Linked DNA regions of Homo sapiens: all the other regions are linked to region 3. The links are contacts of gene promoters, found by promoter capture Hi-C in blood cells and fetal thymus (Javierre and others, 2016). All regions are on one chromosome and are shown on one strand. Each heading gives the region's core, a stretch centred on a gene start or on the middle of the fragment in contact. The rest is flanking DNA. Distances are from core to core; before and after follow the strand shown. Region 1 holds the start of KRTAP9-6 (keratin associated protein 9-6). Region 2 overlaps KRT33A (keratin 33A). Region 3 holds the start of KRT20 (keratin 20). Region 4 has its middle 7.5 kb from the start of KRTAP9-1. Region 5 has its middle 15 kb from the start of KRTAP17-1. Region 6 has its middle 6.2 kb from the start of KRT34. Region 7 has its middle 12 kb from the start of KRTAP9-7.

Region 1 (2,932 bases), core at 183-2,682, 380 kb after region 3:
TAATGGCAGTGTAATGCTTTAATATATATAGTAAATTTCTTGAGTTTCAGATATATTCTCCCTACGCTCTATGGCTTCACGAAAATTATCCCTCATGGAATATTAACTCCTTTATCTACCTGCTGGTCTGCTAACATGAAGGATCCAAAATGAAATGACCAGGTTATAATTGCTGCTTTTGATTATGCCAAAAACACAGTGAAGCAAATTCTATAATTTTTATTTACATAAAAGTCAAAGAAAAAAACAAAACTGACCTACAGGATTAAAACTTGATAGAGTGACTAGCTACCTTTGGAGATAAGTAAAAAGATATAATTTGGAGGGAATGGAATTAATTTCTATTTTGTAAACTGGTAATGGGGACTTAGATGTATTTATAATGTAATATTATATCAAGTTGGAATTCATAATTTGCACTCTTCTGAAATGAATGGTATAATTTAAAAAGTTTTAAACAATGGTAAACCTCAAAGAGGAATCAGATATCATCTCAACTCACCTAATTCCCTCACTGAAAACAGAGAGACAGAGAGAGAGAGAGAGAGAGAGACAGAGACAGAGACAGAGACAGAGACAGAGACAGAGAAATGGCAATGATTGTGCCAGTAACCTGGATTAGGGCTAGAGCCACAGCTCATATTGCTTTGCCTGGACCTCAAGCAGTAATGTCACAGTAATTCCCAGTCCCACATTCTCATGCTGGTAAGCCCCTCAGTCCCAGACAAATCAGGGTGAATGGTCACCGCAGCACGTAGATTGCTTGATGCTTTGTGAATTCCAGTGAACCCCTCCTCTTTCTACGTGTTTGCTTTGGCTCTGCTCTGCCACATAGCACACATTGTGCTGAACACCCTCTTCCCAAGAGGCTTTTATAGAACTGGAAGAGACAGGTAAAGTAGGTTGTACATAGAGAGATGCCTATCAGTCTTGAATCAGACTTTGGTGGGTGAACAGTCTTGGTCCCAAGCATGGATTCAATTCACCACTGTGAATATATCAACATCATGCTTCTCCCCACAGACACTTCCCAGTCTACATACAGCCAAAGGATGAGACTGGGCAGAGAGAACTTCCTGAGCCTCCCCAGTCACCAGGAACTATCACATGACGAGATGCTGGTCAGAGCAGGAACGAAGCTGATGATGAGACTGCCTTCCTTTTATCTGAAACAAAGTTTCTACGAGTAATTTACAATTAAGAAACAGATTAAACCCTTACTTTCCAAAGATTCATAACATTTAGGAAATGACTTCCTCTTTGACAATGCCAAACTGACTATGGAAAACAACTGTAAACAGCAAGAAAGAAAAATCCTGCTGATTGGTGGAAACTTTGGAGGCCACATGTATAAAAGGTCCAGATTGCAAGGGGTCATCAAATCCTGGGAAACTCACCTCTGAACAGAAGCCCACCCTCCACCCCTGACAACATGACCCACTGTTGCTCCCCTGGCTGTCAGCCTACCTGCTGCAGGACCACTTGCTGCAGGACTACCTGCTGGCAGCCCACCATTGTGACCACCTGCAGCAGCACACCCTGCTGCCAGCCCTCCTGCTGTGTGTCCAGCTGCTGCCAGCCTTACTGCCACCCAACTTGCTGTCAAAACACCTGCTGCAGGACCACCTGCTGCCAGCCCACCTGTGTGACCAGCTGCTGCCAGCCTTCCTGCTGCAGCACACCCTGCTACCAGCCCATCTGCTGTGGGTCCAGCTGCTGTGGCCAAACCAGCTGTGGGTCCAGCTGTGGCCAGAGCAGCTCCTGTGCACCTGTGTACTGCAGAAGAACCTGCTACCACCCCACGACTGTCTGCCTGCCTGGTTGCCTCAACCAGAGCTGTGGATCCAGCTGCTGCCAGCCCTGCTACTGCCCAGCCTGCTGTGTGTCCAGCTGCTGCCAGCATTCTTGTTGCTGAGCAGCACCACAGAGGACCATCATCCTCACACAACAACCTTCTGCTCAACTGACCTTTTTTTTCTTTTGAGACGGAGCCTCACTGTCACCCAGGCTGGAGTGCAGTAGCACGCTCTCGGCTCGCTGCAACCTCCATCTTCTGGGTTCAAGTGATTCTCCTGCCTCAGCCTCCTGAGTAGCTGGGATTACATGCCTGTGCCACCACGCCTGGCTAATTTTTTGTATTTTTAGTATTTTTAGTAGTTTTCACCATGTTGATCAGACTTGTCTGGAACTCCTGCCCTCAGGTGATCCACCTGCCTCAGCCTCCCAAAGTGCTGGGATTACAGGTGTGAGCTACCACACCCAGACCCAACTCACTTATCTTTCAGAAGACAGATTTACTTTCAAACTTTACTGATACACAGTATGCTTTCACCAATTTTTTTTATTTCTTTGCCTGTTTAAAATCTTGGGAATCAGCTTGAGGGAGGGCAGAATACTTCATCCTGATTCTTTTTTCCTTACACTTTGTGGATCATGTGCCAGCTTCATGTGTTCTCAATGTGGAGACATGGTCTCCATTCGACTCTAAAGTCAAGAGCTTCATTCTCTCCTTCTAAGAAACTTAGGTTTCTGCAACTGATCAATAATCTTTGCAATCATATTTTTGTTTTCAATTTTGTCCTCATGTTTCTTTTACCCTTCTTTCTTCTTTTCATTGTAACTTTGGGCTATGTCCCTAGTAGCAGGGATTCTTACCTATATATTTCTGAATAAATTCTGAACCATCCTTCATCTCATATGGTGTTTTATTTTACAGAATTGCTGATATGAGATTTACACACATATTGCATGCTATATGTATTATCCAATTTGATTCTGAAAACAGAGTTATTATTATGTATTATTACCTCAATTTTTCAGCTGAGAACAATTTAGTGTGTGATTTTATGTAGCTAATAAAGGACAGACTCTAGTCCAAGGTGAGAGCTTCTCTTTCTGCCCAAGAACACTTACATTTAACTCTCGGTAAAGT
Region 2 (2,765 bases), core at 4-2,503, 460 kb after region 3:
TCTTCATCTGATGGAAAAACTCTGGTTATTTTTTTAATTTATACAAGACAGCCAATTTTGGAATTAATGAGTGAAACAGACAATTATAACTTTTGAATAACAGTTTATTAGGAGGTTAACAAAGGATTTCTATTGCATCTCCAAAGACCAAGAGTGACAAGGAAGATTTGCTCCAATTATGTTCTGTTTCATAGCATGCCCATCAGCTCTATCACATTTAATGGAATTTTCTCTAAATTGTATTATTTAAGTTTTATTCAAGTATAACATGTTATGCAAATGTGTCTTTATGGTGATAGATATTGCTTGATCTTGATCCTGCTGTAGGTCTCTCTATGTGACTCAGAAGACAGATTTTGCAGCCTTATGCTGAAGAATCAAGCCAGGGAATACAGTGGAAGGCTAGAGCTGACCCCTGGAAGCCAGGGTTGATAGAAAGGTTTCTGCCTCTTTCCAAAGTGTGGTCACTGTTGGAGATGTTGGGATGAAGTAGAGTTGAGGTGTGACTGATGCCTTTCTTCTCCTCCTGGTTGTGGGGCCTCTAGTACCCAAATGTGTTGCAAGGCCCACACCGAGCACGTAGGCCACAGGGATTAGAGATACAGGGCCCAGTGGACTTGTCACATGCATTGGTTGTGGCGCAGGGGTTGGAGGGGAGCCTGTGGGCAGAAAATCATTGGAGCAAGTTAGAGTAAAATGAGCTGAAGAGATTGGAAAATACTAAAAGGGCTTTGTGTAAGAATATTGTTCCTCCTTGGACTTCCTCCAAACAAAAGCTTGAAATTATAAATTCATTTCCATCAAGAAGACTATTCATCTCCACAGCAACCTAACATGCCCCAAGGAGAAGATTACTACCCCCATACTGACTTGCAGTCCTCGCTCTCCAGCAGGCTCCGGTACGTGTTGATCTCACACTCCAGCCGCGCCCGCACGTCCAGCAGCACCTGATACTCCTGGTTCTGCCGCTCCAGGTCACTGCGGATCTCCGCCAGCTGGGACTCCACGTTGGTGATCAGTCTCTGCACCTGGGACAGCTGGGAGCTGTAGCGGGCCTCGCTCTCTGTCAGCGTGTTTTCCAGAGAGTCTCGCTGTGGTGGGGAAGATTGAGAGTGTCAGAGAGCTGCTCCTTATAAGGTTCCTCCATGGGGTTCCAAAGAACTCACAAGCTCCAAGAGCTAAGGAGAGTGTGTGGCCCCAAGGGCATCCCCAAGACTCTGCCTCCCAAGTTCCCATCGCTCACCAGCAGGTCTGAACAATACACACCAGGTTGTGCTGGGCCTGCAGCTCGATCTCCAGGGCATTGACCGTGCGTCTCAGCTCGATGATCTCCGCCTGGTAGGACTGCAGCTGCTCCGAGCTGGATACCACCTGCTTGTTCAGCTCCTCGGTCTGAAACACCCAAGGGGAGAAAGGATCAGACCCTGCCTCCGGGGCCCTGGGGGGCCTCGGGTCCTGAGTGGCCACGTGCTTAGATGCCCACCTGCGTGGCGAACCATTGCTCCACTTCCCTGCGGTTGGTTTCCACCAGGGCCTCATACTGACTCCTGGTCTCATTCAGGACCTGGTTCAGGTCCACAGTGGGAGCAGCGTCCACCTCCACGTTGAGGCGGTCTCCAAGCTGGCAGCGCAGGGTGTTAACCTCCTGATGGAGAAAGGGCAAAATTTTAAATTTCACAAAGGATCTTGGTGCTCTCCTTAAGAGAATGCAATTCAACTTCTGATCATTCTTAAGCTTTCAAGAAACTTTGTTCCCTCTGATCCTGTCACTAACCAGGATCTATATTCAATGACTAATTTGTATACTCCACTTTTTACAAACTACTTTCAAGCCCATGACTTCCCTCTGCTCTTTGTATTAAATGTATCACTCCTCATTTAGAGAGATTCAGTGATTTGGGCTCAAAGCTGATACATGGTGGGCCATTATTTAAACTCTGGTCCCCAAATGCCCAGTTCAGTGTTTTTGCTAGTATACCATATAGCCTCACATGTTTGACTCTTAAGCATGGATAATAAAAAGAACAGAGTCTAGCTAAAGAGGAAATACAGAATGCTTACTTCAAAATCTGCCATCCTGGCATAGAAGAGACTTAAAGGGTGATTTGTTGATTCCACCAGCATAGATTTTGCTGAAGGCAATAAGTATCTGTTTACTTCCCTGCTAAGCATAGCTTGGTACTTGGGCTTAGGCGGATTTCAGACAAATTTGTATTCAACCTCATCTCTACCACTTAATACATTGCTTCTAGAAGCTTCTTGAAGCCTCGATTTCTTCATCTTAACATGAGAACTGCCTCCGGAGTTAAAGCACTTAGCACAATGTTTGGCACATACTAAGCACTTGATTAATATTAACTGTCACCATTTACATTGTTCTTGGATTTCAGGTTGCATAAAATACACGTCTTCTTTTTTGCCCAACTGACTTAGCCATAATGGTGAGCATTTTGCTCAAGGCTGTTTCCAAGCAACACTGAACAGCAAGCAGAAAGAGCTCTGGACAGGAACGAAGAGAATTGCATTTTGTTCTAGCTCAGCCCTCTCTGCCTGATGGGCCTAGGCCATCCTGGCTTCTCCAGCTACAAATGGAGAATTGGAATAGAAGATTGCTGCTGCATGCACTCTAACCTGGGCACAGGAGAGGCTGTGGCTTCTGCCTCATTACCCAGCTTTCCTCACTACTGGGCTTGCCAACTTCCTCACTCTCATTCCTGCCTCTGGCAGAAAAATCCTAATCTCATATCACAGGTTTTTAGATTAGT
Region 3 (2,723 bases), core at 30-2,529:
CTCTAAAGGAGTATGAATCTTAACACAAATTACAGTGAACACTTTTCTTAATTAGATAAGAACTTTAATTTGAAGCAAGTGCTCTGTGTCATATCTGAAATTTTCAATTAGGAGCAAAGTCTTCTGCTTTTATTCCATGAAACTGATAAAATACAGAGCTCCACCCTTTTTTTGATGACATAGGAGGAGGTTGTGATATGATTGTAATAAACATGAATTGGGGGCAATAGAACATTTTATTACTGTAGAAGTAGTTTCTGAACTGCTTGATGCTGATGGTCATGTTATTAAACAGGGCACTTAAAAATCCAGGCATCATTAAGACCCATATTCCTGCCACACTGTTTCCACCCAGAATCACTTTGCTATTTAAATCTGCAGTACAGTATTCTAATAGTCATATTATAACATTTACTTAAATAAAAGGAGAAAAGTCTTTGAATTTACTGGGGTTTCAAAACTTGATAAGGACTAGGTGAAAAACTAAGAGAGATTTATCACGTAATTAATTTTTAGCTCTTTTCAGAAAGATTGTTCACTATACATTTAGCCCTGATGTGATAAGCTGTGACAAAGATTCATTTTATTCCGGAGGATAAAATGTTCATATTTTGTATGTAATTGTGTTAAACATTAAAAATAGCATGATTTAAGGTCATCCTGTTGTACAGTCAGGTACTCCAGCACTAAAGGTAGATGAAAGAATTTTTATAGATGTAACATTTTAGCCTAATTTGCTTTACAAAGTCCATTTGGACCTACCTAACATAGATAACCTCTTGATTTATCTTGAAGCTAAACACAGAGTAGGAAACACAAGCATCATCTCTCACCTGACTTCGCAGCTCTTCAATTTGTCTGTAATATGCACTGTAGTCGCGACCAGCCCTCGGGGCGTTGGTTTCGTACCACTGCTTGATTTGCACTTCAAGTTTGGAGTTGGACTGCTCCAGGGTCCGCACCTTTTCTAGGTAGCTCGCTAGACGGTCATTTAGGTTCTGCATGGCCATTTTCTCATTGCCAACAAACAGGTCCCCGCCGCCTGTGAGATCGCTCCCATAGTTCACCGTGTGTCTGGAGTTGGAGATGCGGATGCCCCGGCCTCCAGCACCCCCATAAACGCTGGGTGTCGTCCCGAGGCGCTGCATGCCCACTGTACTGACTACAGGGGCCTGCAAGGAGGAGCTCAGGCTTCTGTGGAAGCTTCTGCGACTGAAATCCATTGGAGATTCCAGGAGGGAGCACCTGTAGCTTCAGGATGGTTGGGGCAGAGTGTGTCTCATGGAGGGTGTTGAGCTAGCCTTTTATGAAGTCCACAGGCAAGAAACTCCTCCTCTGCTGACATGTCACTAGGATTGGCACCACAGTCCACCTTGCCTTACTTCCACGCCCCCCGCTTTGTATAGCAATATGTTAATATGCTTAATTCAATTCCAGAAAATACCACTAGAGGCATTTCTTGGAGGCTTTTATCAGGGGCAACTTTTTTTTTTTTTTAATTAAACAGGTAATAAAAGGAAACAGGAAAGTGTATTCTTTTAGCCCATGCGCCTGCCTTGGCAGGTTTTTTTCATCCTAACATACACACAAAGAATATTTACAATCCTCATGTATAATTTAGGTATCTAAAAAGGCAGATGTGCCTACATAACTGAAAGTCACAATGGAGATAAAGGACAATGTTTGATTTGTATTGAGGAGTTGCTCTTCAGAACCTCTGTTTCATGCTTTGCTTGTGTTTGGCTTTTAAGTTTATTGTGTTTTGGACATCTTATTTTATAAGACTATTAAAATATTTTGTACAAACACAAAACCTCGAATCCCTAAACCAGGAATGAAACCATTGTACATTTGGAGATGTAGTTTGGGGATGTGAATTAAATGAATTTAGCTGAGTGATGGATTAGATGATTTGGGAGGTTATTTTCTTTCTATTTCTAATGTTCTATGACTAAATATTGCATTTTAGGTTTCCAGTCACCACCTGGCTTCAAGTCCTGTTACCAAGACACTTAGAATAAATCACACAGTGCTTTGTACCTGGCATGGTATCAGGATGGGTCTCCTCTTTTGTATGAGGCCAGCTTAACACCCACCATGAGACAGACTCTGCCCCATCCATCCTGAAGCTACTTACAGGTGCTCCTTCTAAAGTCCCCAGTGGATTTCAGTTGCAGAAGCTTCCATGGAAGCCTGATCTTCCTTGTATGCCCCCATAATCACAGCGAGAGTGGCTGTTTATATAGGAAGGGGTGCAGGCGGGGACTTGGGACTACACTCAGCTTCCAGGGTTGGGCTGGAGGCAGCTGCTTGTGTGTGGACCTCTAGACACATGGGCATGATCTCATCGGTGGGAATCTGATTGTAAGCAACCAATAAATGCCTGAGTCACTTGCTTCCCTTCATTCAAACCCCCTGGCTGAGAATTCACACTTCCCATGAAGCATGTAAATCACTTCCTTAGTTAATTAGATAATCACTAATTAATATAATTAGATAATCAGTTAATCACTTCCAAGTTAATTAGAAGGGATTGGAAAAGTCACTAAAAACATCTAATTAATTGTCATCCTGATACTTTAATGGAATTGAGATTTGTATATAATTAAGCAAGCAAGTAAATGCAAAAAAAATTGGAATTTAATTGTCTTATTTTAGTGGCTTATTTGTTGTTGCTGTTGTTCTGAAAGCCAGTCACTTAAAAAAAATTTTTTTTGAGTTTT
Region 4 (2,762 bases), core at 150-2,649, 310 kb after region 3:
GTGTCTGGTAATTGGTTATTATTATTGGACTTCAGAGGTCACTTCAGTTCTTGAGATACTTCAAAAGTTCCCAAATGTTTTTGTTGGATTCAAAATTGACCATTCGCTGATTTTTGAAGTCCATAAGCAACAAAATATGTAAAATATGTAAAATTTAAAAAGAAACACAAAGTGCCATACATACTTATTAGGCATCCTTTGGAGGAAACAGGAAGGCTGTCTTCCAGGGTAGTAAATACTACCTTGAAAAACGTACCAGTATCTGGCCTTCAGCCTTGCACACTCCAGAAACTGAAATTATTTACATTCTAAGAGTGAAACCACCTCTGGGAGCAGGCTCACTTTCACCAAGCCCATAACATTAGTACCAGTTGAAGAATCTACATGAGAAATAACTTAAAGAGAAGATGACATTTTCATGGGTCTTTTTGACCAGGATATTTTCTTCCTATAGATATACCTGCATGAAAAGTGAAATTATAACCAAAGGTTATTTTCTTTTTTATAATTAAACTTTTTGAGATAATTGTAGATTCACATGCAGTTGCAAGAAATAATACAAAGAAACCTCTGTACTCTTTACCAAGTTTCCCCCCAATGATAACTTCTTGCAAAACTACAGTACGGTATCACAAGTCCAATGGTGACATTGATACCTTCAAGACACAGAGTAGCTCCATCAGCACAAGGATCCCTTGTATTGCCCTAAAAGCTTATTTTCTCAGCAAATATTTAGAACATTCTAATATTCTAGAAGTTCTAATAATACGGAATGGCATCTAATGCATTTGTTCTAAAACAGATTTTGCCAGGCACTCTGGAAAATTCAAGTGCCTTGGGTGGCTCTCCCTCCCCCATGCAATGTGTCGTAACCAGCACTTCTGAATTTGTCTCAGACTCTCTCTTTTCTCTAAGCTGCCATGGCTCACCAAACCTCCACCCCCATTTATAAGTCCCAGGTTCTTTTTAAAACCATCTTCAATCAACTTACAGTAATTTCTGCAGGTCTTGAAGCAGCCCCTCCCATGTTCCCCAACTTCTGATACAACCTCATTTATGCCTTTGCCTCATAAAGACCTACAAAACATTTTTAATTTTGTTTACTTTTGCCATCATATTTATGGATCATTTATGAAGTTTCAGGCCATAGCATACAAATTATATTTTAGGCAACTCCGGATTTTGTCCACTTTCTCTTTCTTCCAAATAAAAATATAAGCTGCAGCCATGCAGGTCTGTCTTCAGAAACTGGCATGGGCTCTTTGTTATCATTAGACAGTAACATGACATCATACACCTGTTTGTGTGATTCCCCCATCACACTCCTTCCCCTGGGATCCCTCAGTGAGTTCTGATGGTTTATGCACATCCTACTGCAATTTTTCCTATGACTGCCATTAAACATAAAAGACAATTCCACACTTCAGTCCTCTATTAAAATATAATATTATTATGGACAAGACCAAGTAATGCTTTCACGAAATGGTTTTTCATTTTCTTTAGCTCTGTCCAGTGTACAATGTATGTAACAAAACTTCCCTATTTTTCCACTGGAGAACCTCCATTCAGAATTCCCCCTAGATGGCAGATGTTGGCATGATTTTACTCCAGTATGTGTTTTAAAAAGAAAAGGAATGACACTCCCTAATTCCAATCCCAGCTATAACATTGATAGTTTAAGAAGTGTGAGAGAGCCCCCAGAACTGCCAATATTGGAAGTCCTATCAACATCAGATTGACTCACTGGAGAATTGTGAGGTTTGTTATGTTCAGAGTTTGCTCATGTGTAAAATGTGGAAAAATGGAAAAAGAATCAGAGGAACATGTATAATGATTCCCACTGAGGTTAACAAGTGTAGATTTGTTTCTAAGATATTAAGAACTTCATGAAATTATAGAAATTTTGAAGACTGATAATACTGATATTATATGAAATTATAGAAATTTTGAAGACTGATAACACTGTATTATGTAAGTTGTTCTGAGAGATTCCCACGGTATTTGTATGATGTTTCAATACCTTCTTTCAGCTTAGATAAGAATATTGGAATCTTCTGAAAATCGATATCAGAATCTACCCAACCTAAAAGCTTTCTACTGTACCTGTCTAATTAATATAAAAGCTTGAGAGTACTTGATATAAGTATAAATAAATGATATAAAGGCTTGAGAGGATGTTGATAGAACTTCTAGGGATTGGATTTAGGGAGTGTCCTTCCTTTTCTTTTTAAAACACATACTGGAGTAAAATCATGCCAACATCTGAAGTCCCCTCAGAATGGAGTACAGATATTATGAATCCAGATTCACCAAGAAGTTAGTTTTTTTTTTTTTAATTTAAAAAGCTGCTCATGCTGGGAATGTAAACTGGTACAACCACTGTGGAAAATAGTGTGGAGATTCCTTAAAGAACTAAAAGTAGAACTACCATTTGATCCAGCAATCCCAAAACTGGATATCTACCCAGAGGAAAAGAAGTCATTATACGAAAAAGATACTTGCACGTGCATGTTTATAACAGCACAATTTGCAATTGCAAAAAATATGAAACCAGCCCAAATGCCCATCAATCAATGAGTGGAAAAAGAAATGGTTGTATATATGATGGAATACTACTCAGCCATAGAAAGGAATGAATTAATGACACAGCAATCTGGATGGAATTGGAGACTATTATTCTAAGAGAAGTAATTCAGGAATGGAAAACCGAACCTGAAATCTTGTAAGTGGGAGCTAGCTATGAGGATGCAAAGGCATAAGAA
Region 5 (2,774 bases), core at 35-2,534, 450 kb after region 3:
CAGCAGCTCAGACTCTGAAGGTATCTGTTGTTCATGTTCCCAGTGCTCCCACCAAAGAGAATTACTACAGAGAATACTCTTGGTCCTGAGGTGGGCAAAACAGCATGCCCTGTGGATGGAGCCGGCTTCTTTCCCAGCCACCATGCTTGCTGGATGGGCCCGCAGAGCAAGTGGCCATGAGACGGGCATGGGGACGGGAGAGGCTCAGCATCCTGCACATGCCCTTACCAAGGCTCACCAGGCTGACACCACTGCTGAGCGCCTTGTCTGTGGAAAACAGATTCACACCCAACCCCTGGGATGGCACCATTTCCCAGAAGGACCAGCTGGCCACCTACTGGCAGGCTGACCACACTGCGGAAGGGGCTGAGATTGGCTTTCACTGCACTGAGCCACAACGTGGACATGCACTTGCCGGCCCTGCAGTGCACACAGCACTGCTTCCGACCAGGGCACCCCATTCACAGCTAGGGACAAGCAGCAGTACACTCCCGAGGCCCCACAACCCAAACAAGCTTCCCATCCTCGTTTTACTTTTTTGTTAAACTTATGAAAATTTATGAAGAAAGTGCACAGCTCTAAAGACATTAACAGATGGAACACATCAGCCCCCAGATCACAAAGCCAACCCAGCCTCTGCGCCCCCAGCCCTGCAACCAGTGTTCTGACTTCTGACAACACCATGAGCCTGCCTTTTGTACTTTACACTCATGGAAGGATAACCACGTCCATGTTTTAAAATAAATGTTTACTTTTGAAATGATTTTAGATATATAGAAAAACTGAAAAGGCATTATAGTGTACTCCGACACCTTCCGTCCAGCTGCCCCTAATAATGACATTTTGCATTACCATGGCACATTTGTCCAAATTAAGAAATTTAGGCCAGGTGTGGTGGCTCACACCTGTAATCCCAGCAGTTTGAGAGGCCAAGGCAGGAGGTTAAGGTTCATTTGAGTCCTGGAGTTTGAGACCAGCCTGGGCAACATAGGTAGACCCTATCCCTGGAGAAAAGTTAAAAAAAAAAAAAAAAAAAAATAAGGAGCCAGGCATGGTGGCGTGTGCCTATAGTCCCACCTAATCAGGAGGCTGAAGCAGGAGGATCGCTTGAGCCCAAGAGATCCAGGAAGCAGTGAGCTATGATCGCACCACTGCATTCCAGCCTGGGCGACAGAATGAGACTTTCTCTCTTAAAAAAAAAATTAAGGAATTTAACATGGGTGCAATCCTGTTAACTGAATAATAATGTTAACTATTATTTAAGGTTATTAATGCTGTCACTATATTAATATGGTGAAATTCATTCAGATTTCACCTGTTTTTGCTTAACTTCTGGTACCTGTCCCAGGATCCCACCTCGGACTCACCTTCTGTCTTTAGGTCATTCCTCCTTAGCTTCCTTCAGAGGTTGCAACCAAACACACACCTTGGCTGAATGGTAGAGCTGATTGCTCCTGGGCTCCAAACCTCTGCAGCATGTTACCATACTGAGTACCATAGGTAGTGGTAACACAATGATGGCTATTTGTGTATCTAAACACAGAAAAGAATGATAAAAATACAGTATAAATGATAAAAAAAAAAAAAAATTGGTACACCTGGCCAGATGTAGTGGTTCATGCCTATAATCCCAGCACTTTGAGAGACCATGCCGGGAGGATCACTTGAGCCCAGAAGTTCTAGACTAGTCTGGGCAACATAAAAAGACCCCATCTCTTTTTAGATATCAATTTTTAGAGATGGTACACCTGTATAGGGCAGCTCCATTATAACCTTATGGGACCACCATTCTATATGCATTCTGGCACGGACTGAAATGTTGCTATCTGACACATGATTGCATAGGTAAGTAATCTAGAGATGATTTAAAGCATATGGGAAGATGTGCTTAGGTTATATGCAAATACTGTACCATTTTATATCAAGACTGGAGCATCTGTGGATTTTGGTATTTGTGGGAGGTGGTGAAACTGATTCCCGACGTACGCAGAGAGACAACTGTAAACATTTCGGACCCCACAGAAGGCTCAATTGCCTGCCCCCTCACCCTCAGGTAAGCTTTCTAAAGTGTTTGTTTCACTTTACCTGCTCATCCGTGAGCCAGAGGGCTCCATCAACAGCTTGGGCTGTCTCAGAAAGACCTGGATTCAATCCCATTCAGCCACTTAGTAGCTGTGTCACTTTGGGCAAATCATGTAACTTCTCTGAACCTCAGTGTCCTCATCTGTAAATTGGGCCGATGGTGACCCTTACTTTGCAGGCCCCCGTGAGGACTAAGTGAGATGAAAGCTGACACCCCAAGTGACACCACTTCTCCCTTCCTCAGACTCAACAGGAAAACGCCTTCACTGCCCAATGCAAAGGCTATGGGGAGGATGAGAGGCTCCAGGGATCCCCTGTCCCAGGAGCATAAACCCTGGATTTTTGCTTCCAGAAATAACCTTCTCTAGGATCAGGATGGTTCTTAACTCCCCAAAGACTGTGAGCCCACCCTAGGCGGCATCTTCAGCAGTGGGGAAGGGGATGCACAGTGCCAGCCTCACCCTGGCCACTGTCTGCCCTCATGACTCAGAGCCCAGCTAGGTCCCCACGCAGAGCAGTGCAGGAACCTACCTTGGTCCCAGGCTCCAGCCATCCCGGCCACCCCCACCTGCCACCACCCTGTCTCCTCCATCCCTCAGCCCCTGCTTGCCTCGTTCACAGCTCAGTGTCCTGACATCTTAGCTCCTTGCATGTCACCGTCGTCTGTCTCCTCAAGGGGAGTGCAGCACAAG
Region 6 (2,811 bases), core at 205-2,704, 500 kb after region 3:
AGCCTCCTGAGTAGCTGGGATTACAGTTGCGCACCACTGTGCCCAGCCAATTTTTATATTTTTAGTAGAGATGGGGTTTTGCCCTGTTGGCCAGGCTGGTCTCAAACTCCTGACCTCAAGTGATCTACCCACCTCGGCCTCCCAAAGTGCTGGGATTACAAGCATGAGCCATTATGCCCAGCCTGTGATTATATGGTTATTTTGAATTCTCTATTTTGAATATATGGTTATTTCAAATTCTCTTTCGGGTAAATTGTATATCTCTTTCATTGGGGTCAACTTCAGGAGATTTATCTTGTACCTTTGTTTAGGACATATTTCCCTGTTTCTTCATTATCCTTGGATCTTTGTGCTGGTGTCTGTGCATTAGACAAAACAGCCACCTCTCCCAATCTTCACGGACTGGCCTTGTACTGGAGAAGACCTTCACCAATCAGCCCAGCCAGAGATACTGGGGACCTCTCAAATTTTTGTGCTAGTCCAAACCACCATCTTTGCAGCCTCCAGGCATCTTGAGTATGGCTAGTTTCCATAGCACTCTGGCACAGGTGAGACAGAAGCCCATCCCTGATACTGTCCACAGAAAAGACAGAATATTGGACACAGGTCTAACTCTTTCTCTCTCCAGGGAGAGCCTGGGACCCAGGGTTTTTCACTGGCTCGCTCTGAACTTGGCCGGGGGAGAGGGCTGTGGTGAATATTCATATGCTAGTTAAAATTACCCTCTTTGTTCTCAATGGCTCCTAGACGTCTGGAGTATGCTGGATTCCATCCGCATTCTAAGACAGGCAAGACAGAAGCTAGTGCATTGGCAGCTCTCAGAAAAATCTGAATGTTGAATGTATGGTCCAGTTATTTCCTCCTCTCCCTGCAAAGAAGCTGGGAGGGGGATTTCCTCCTAACCATATGATACTATGCTGAGAAAGCAGGGATTATTGTGATAGAGTATCTTAAAATCTTTCTACCAACTTTGATTTGGCTGGTTTTACACTCATCCAGGGTGCAAGAGCCTCTCAAATTGTTACTAGATTTCTCACAAATAAAATTTATCTGAGTATTATTATTGAATTAGTGTGCCCATGACGGTGAGGAGGGTCCAGGGCTGCTTATTCCCTCATCTTGCTGATGTCACTCTCCAAAAAACACGAATTTGAAATTAAATGACCTGGATTTACATCCTTACCTATGATATGAGCTCAGAGAAGTTCATTCCCTTTTTTGAGTCTTGTTTATCTCATCTCTTGAATTGAAATAATAATAATGCTGCCTACCTCATAGTTTTGTTTTTTTGTTTGTTTGTTTTTGTTTTTGTTTTTTTTTGCAAAAGGTAAGGTATTGTGTGTGAACATGTTTGGGGGAGGGAGTGATGATGTTTATTTCCATAAACTTCATTGTTCCTATTGTTGACCCAGGTGGCTCAGATGAAGAATTTTGTGAAAATTCTACTTCGTTAAGCAGACAAATTGCCCATTGCCCATCCCAACCCAGTGGTGCTCAAACTTCACCCACTTACCTTGTAAGTACTAGGGGCACAGAACTCTATTCATAAATTAACCATCAAAATGCAAATGTTAACATTAACTTAGTGGTTGAAATAGGAAGTTGCAGATAACCATTACCTCTATCTTCTCTGCTAAGTTCCTGATCTTGTGGGTTTGGTTATCTTATTTGGGGTAGTTCTGGAGGAGGACAAGTTCTCCACATGAAATTGTAATATCACCAAAGCCTCTTTTCTGGTACTGGGATTGAAATGTGCTTTTGTTATCCTCTTGGAATCTTCTAGCCTTATAGCTCTGTGCAAGCATTTGTAATAATGATAATAATGGCAGTGTTGTTGTTGATGATGATTCTGCCATTTCATCAAGGCTTATTAGATGCCAAACAAGGCACTAAGCACTTTGGCACATTTCTCATTTGATTCTCCCAACAACTGTATAAAGTTGGCCTATTATTCCCATGTTACAGATAAAGAAATAAACTGGGAAAGGCTCCACATTTGCCCTAGATACAGGCAATAAATGGTGGAGCAGGGATTTGAACAATTCAGGTTTATGACTCCTGATCATGAACACCTAAACACAGTACAAAACCTTTATATTTGGCACAGAGGTTTCTCTGGTTTGTGAGGGAAATATTCATTGCTTCCCATTGCCCCTTACTTCGTAGTTTTTCCTTCTGGTCCCCTCTAGGGCCCTGTTCCCCACCCCTTCATACTCCATCATTCCTCCAAAGGCCTCTCTGCCCAAGCCTTTGAGCACCCAGCTAATCTCTATGGTACCTTCCTGAACTAAGGCCAAGTCTTACTCATTTATTTTTCTCCACAGGGAAATAATCGTCCTTTTGCATAATTGATCCAAACTGGAAACTAGATTGTCTTTTCTGAATATCTAAGCAAATTAAAATGCATAATCACATGACCTAAGTGATTTAGAACTTAGAAGAAAGACTACCCTTCTAACCATGAGTTTTAATCCTGTAAAAGTTCATCTCAGAAGTAAATTCAGTTTCCTACAATCAAAGAACTCTAAAGCTAGAAGGACCTGAATTTATGGAGGAGAAAACTAGTGCCCAGACAGTAAGGTAGTAAGGAAATGAATATCAATCAATCACTTTCTAGTCAGATAGTCTACTAGGTACCTTTGCATATAGTATTTCATCCTCACCCCAGAACCTGAGTGTTCAGGTTCCATTTTTGTCACCATGTAGCAGAGATGAAGAATCTGAAATGTTGGGAGTAAATTTAACTCATTCAAAATGACACAAGTAAGCAGGCTTCAGTCGGCCTGACCCATCATATTTATTGTGAGTTAG
Region 7 (2,700 bases), core at 131-2,630, 400 kb after region 3:
AGTGCTGGGATTACAGGTGTGAGCCACCACACCCAGCCAAGAACATTGAACTCTTATTGGTGATGTTTGAAGAATCGTGGGGAACCTAAAATTTGGGAGACTGGATCTATATTAGCATCAGAGAAAATTTTCATTCAATCTGAACTGATCAAAATAAGGATAGCTCCCTCTCCTTCAGGAAGCATTGAGCATGCCAGCATTTGCAAAATATATACCCGAACTTGAATTGCAAGAGCAGTTTTTTCCTTTTTGGCCCTGAAAATAACTTACAACATCCAAGAAGACTTTAAACAATCTATCTTTTACCTATTGCACAATTTGTTATTATACAATAGGGGGCTTATTGTTATTATTGTTGTTTGTAATGGTATTTCTAGGGCTTTCTATATTTCAAATGACTGACTCTTAATTCTGTTTAGTGCTGAATCACTGTTTTCCTCTTTCGTTTTTCTTTTAACTGGTAAATATTAACTTCCTTCATACAGCTCTGTCCTAAGACAGGTACAGCTAGCTTATTGGTGACAGCCGGACATGCTTGCACTGAATGACCGATGGTTTCCACTCTTCTTCTTTCCTCCTCTTTCCTAGTAGCTCAGTTCAATAAGGTTAAGCCCTTTTCTGATGGTTTGAGATACATTTAAAATGAATTTCTTATATTTATTTTTCTGGTGAAATAATATGTTATCAGGGAAACAATAGGGATTTGGCTTTTAAAAATTCATCATAGTCTTGTTAAAAAAAAAATTATTCAATGGCACTTGTGAAAGCCTGGTAAGGGAGACTTTATTCAGGAACACTGCAGTAAACAAAGGAACCACCATAACAGGGTCTTGCATTGGGAGACAGAGATTGGACTCATCTCCTAACATAGCATGGGCAAGTGAGAATTTACAGCCAAGGAGCAGGGTGGCGGTCAGTGGATGGAAAATTACTAAGAGGAAGCATCACCAGTAGGGAAATTTTGGCTAAACTGACCTAAAAGTGCTCTTGCTGAAGACAGGCGAGGGTGATCAAACATCACTTGGAGAATGGTGGCAGATAAGAGATCTGATCCGCTATTAAGGGTGATCAGATATCGAGGATGGGGAGTTCTTGCTAAACCTATTTAGCAGGGCTCTTTGCTAAAATTTTACAAAACTGGATTTTACAAGGAAGTGCACCCATGGGCCTATGAGAAGGTTCAGAAGCTTGACTAAACTATGGACAAGGAAAAAAATCTTCATTGGTCCTTACTGCCTTTTTAAAGAAACATTGGACTTCATGGCCACTAGTGAGGGTTTGGATTTAACTAATGAGTATCACTAGAAATTGGACATGCATGAGATTCACCATCCCTGTCCACCACCTCTGCTGATTGTCTTAATAACTGGTTAATTTTGCCACCTCTAAAATATCTTTCCTGCACATTTCTTCATTGTATTTATAATTTGAATTATCTTCTTTGCAACTAAGGCATTTCCCAATTTATCACCTAGTAATCTATACTCATCTTGCATATCCTTTCGTGACCTAGATTATGTGTGCAGTATATCCTTCATAAGCTCTTAAATTTAAAGGATATTTTATATTTTACAAAGCTTTTTCCCATTTTGGCCTGGCACAGTGGCTCACACCTGTAATCCCAGCACTTTGAAAGGCCAAGGCAGGAGGATCATTTGAGGTCAGGAGTTCGAGACCAGCCTGGCCAACATGGCAAAACCCGTCTCTACTAAAAATACAAAATTAACCAGGCTTGGCAGTGTGCACCTGTATTCCCAGCTACTCGGGAGGCTTAGGCACGAAAATCACTTGAACCTGGGAGGCAGAGTTTGCAGTGAGCTGAGATCGCGCCACTGCACTCCAGCCTGGGTGAAAGAGCAAGACTTTGTCTCAAAAATTAATTAATTAATTAATATTTTTAAAAAAACAAAGTTCTTTCACATCTATTCCCATGCCACTAAGTCAAGAGACTAATTTTTAAGACTTCGGGAAAGATCTATGGATCCCATCCATGCTGACTTAGAGCATAAGCAAATAGTTCATTTAAACAGCAACCCTTTAACCAGGCACAGTGGCTCACACCTGTAATCCTAGCACTTTGGGAGGCCAAGGTGGGTGGATCACTTGAGGTCAGGAGTTCAAAACCAGCCTGACAAATGTGGTGAAACCCCGTCTCTATTAAAAATGCAAAAAATTAGTGGGGTGTGGTGACACGCACCTGCAATCTCAGCTACTCGGCAGGCTGAGGCAGGAGAATCGCTTGAACCCAGGAGGCGGAGGTTGCAGTGAGCCAACATCAAGCCACTGCACTCTAGACTGTGCGACAGAGCAAGACTGTGTCTAAAAAGAGCAATCCTTGGATTTTGTTTGCAACAGCTCTAGACTATTTATCAGGAAATCACTACCATCAAATATTTTTCCAGTTCCAGCTAGGTTCAGGTGTTGCCAAGAAGTTTCTGATGAAGTGGGCTACAGGAGGGAACTTACTTCTAGATGTTATAGAACTATTGTTGTAAGATGAATTTATTTAGGTGGGCAAACTGATGAGACCAACATGAGTAACACCAAATGCCGTACACCACGCAGATGGGCAAGTTTCATGTTATACTGGGGACTCATGGGCTCATTACACCCATCTTTTGGGCCATTTTTATGTCTCAAATATCAGTTTTTATTCTGTTGTCTTAACTTATAGCCACTGAGATAACTCCCTACTGATAT

The links. Contacts are between HindIII fragments. The CHiCAGO score rates a contact against its expected background, and 5 or more counts as called.
Region 1: a contact is called between the fragment with the promoter of KRTAP9-6 here and the fragment with the promoter of KRT20 in region 3, in 3 of 17 cell types (endothelial precursors, M2 macrophages and erythroblasts). The highest score is 6.8, in endothelial precursors.
Region 2: a fragment that was not itself captured here is called in contact with the fragment with the promoter of KRT20 in region 3 in 4 of 17 cell types (M2 macrophages, neutrophils, endothelial precursors and 1 more); the score reaches 5.7 in M2 macrophages.
Region 4: a contact is called between a fragment that was not itself captured here and the fragment with the promoter of KRT20 in region 3, in 1 of 17 cell types (M1 macrophages). The highest score is 5.2, in M1 macrophages.
Region 5: a contact is called between a fragment that was not itself captured here and the fragment with the promoter of KRT20 in region 3, in 10 of 17 cell types (M0 macrophages, M1 macrophages, M2 macrophages and 7 more). The highest score is 18.1, in M0 macrophages.
Region 6: a fragment that was not itself captured here is called in contact with the fragment with the promoter of KRT20 in region 3 in 1 of 17 cell types (M1 macrophages); the score reaches 6.1 in M1 macrophages.
Region 7: a fragment that was not itself captured here is called in contact with the fragment with the promoter of KRT20 in region 3 in 5 of 17 cell types (endothelial precursors, M2 macrophages, M1 macrophages and 2 more); the score reaches 8.3 in endothelial precursors.

What each region holds. Positions count from the first base shown.
Region 1 is chr17:41,263,946-41,266,877 of GRCh38, forward strand. It overlaps KRTAP9-6 (keratin associated protein 9-6), which reads left to right and starts at 1,433. Exons shown (of 1, transcript NM_001277331.1): 1 at 1,433-1,915. The coding sequence starts at 1,433. The coding sequence ends at 1,915. The HindIII fragment of the contact is 5,841 bases long and covers 1-2,932 here.
Region 2 is chr17:41,345,578-41,348,342 of GRCh38, forward strand. It overlaps KRT33A (keratin 33A), which reads right to left. Exons shown (of 7, transcript NM_004138.4): 4 at 1,484-1,645; 5 at 1,267-1,392; 6 at 871-1,091; 7 at 515-659. The coding sequence ends at 542. Among named protein-coding and RNA genes, the nearest start is that of KRT33A, 3.9 kb to the right of the region's middle. RefSeq lists enhancers at 883-1,383, 1,384-1,884. The HindIII fragment of the contact is 959 bases long and covers 775-1,733 here.
Region 3 is chr17:40,883,963-40,886,685 of GRCh38, forward strand. KRT20 (keratin 20) reads right to left here and starts at 1,280. Exons shown (of 8, transcript NM_019010.3): 1 at 834-1,280. The coding sequence starts at 1,223. The region is part of intron 1 of LOC105371777 (a long non-coding RNA gene); the gene reads left to right. The HindIII fragment of the contact is 977 bases long and covers 1,202-2,178 here.
Region 4 is chr17:41,195,960-41,198,721 of GRCh38, forward strand. No RefSeq gene overlaps it. Among named protein-coding and RNA genes, the nearest start is that of KRTAP9-1, 7.5 kb to the left of the region's middle. The HindIII fragment of the contact is 1,378 bases long and covers 711-2,088 here.
Region 5 is chr17:41,329,181-41,331,954 of GRCh38, forward strand. It overlaps the pseudogene TBC1D3P7. Among named protein-coding and RNA genes, the nearest start is that of KRTAP17-1, 15 kb to the left of the region's middle. RefSeq lists an enhancer at 361-930. The HindIII fragment of the contact is 1,543 bases long and covers 514-2,056 here.
Region 6 is chr17:41,387,089-41,389,899 of GRCh38, forward strand. No RefSeq gene overlaps it. Among named protein-coding and RNA genes, the nearest start is that of KRT34, 6.2 kb to the left of the region's middle. The HindIII fragment of the contact is 3,678 bases long and covers 1-2,811 here.
Region 7 is chr17:41,286,796-41,289,495 of GRCh38, forward strand. No RefSeq gene overlaps it. Among named protein-coding and RNA genes, the nearest start is that of KRTAP9-7, 12 kb to the left of the region's middle. The HindIII fragment of the contact is 390 bases long and covers 1,186-1,575 here.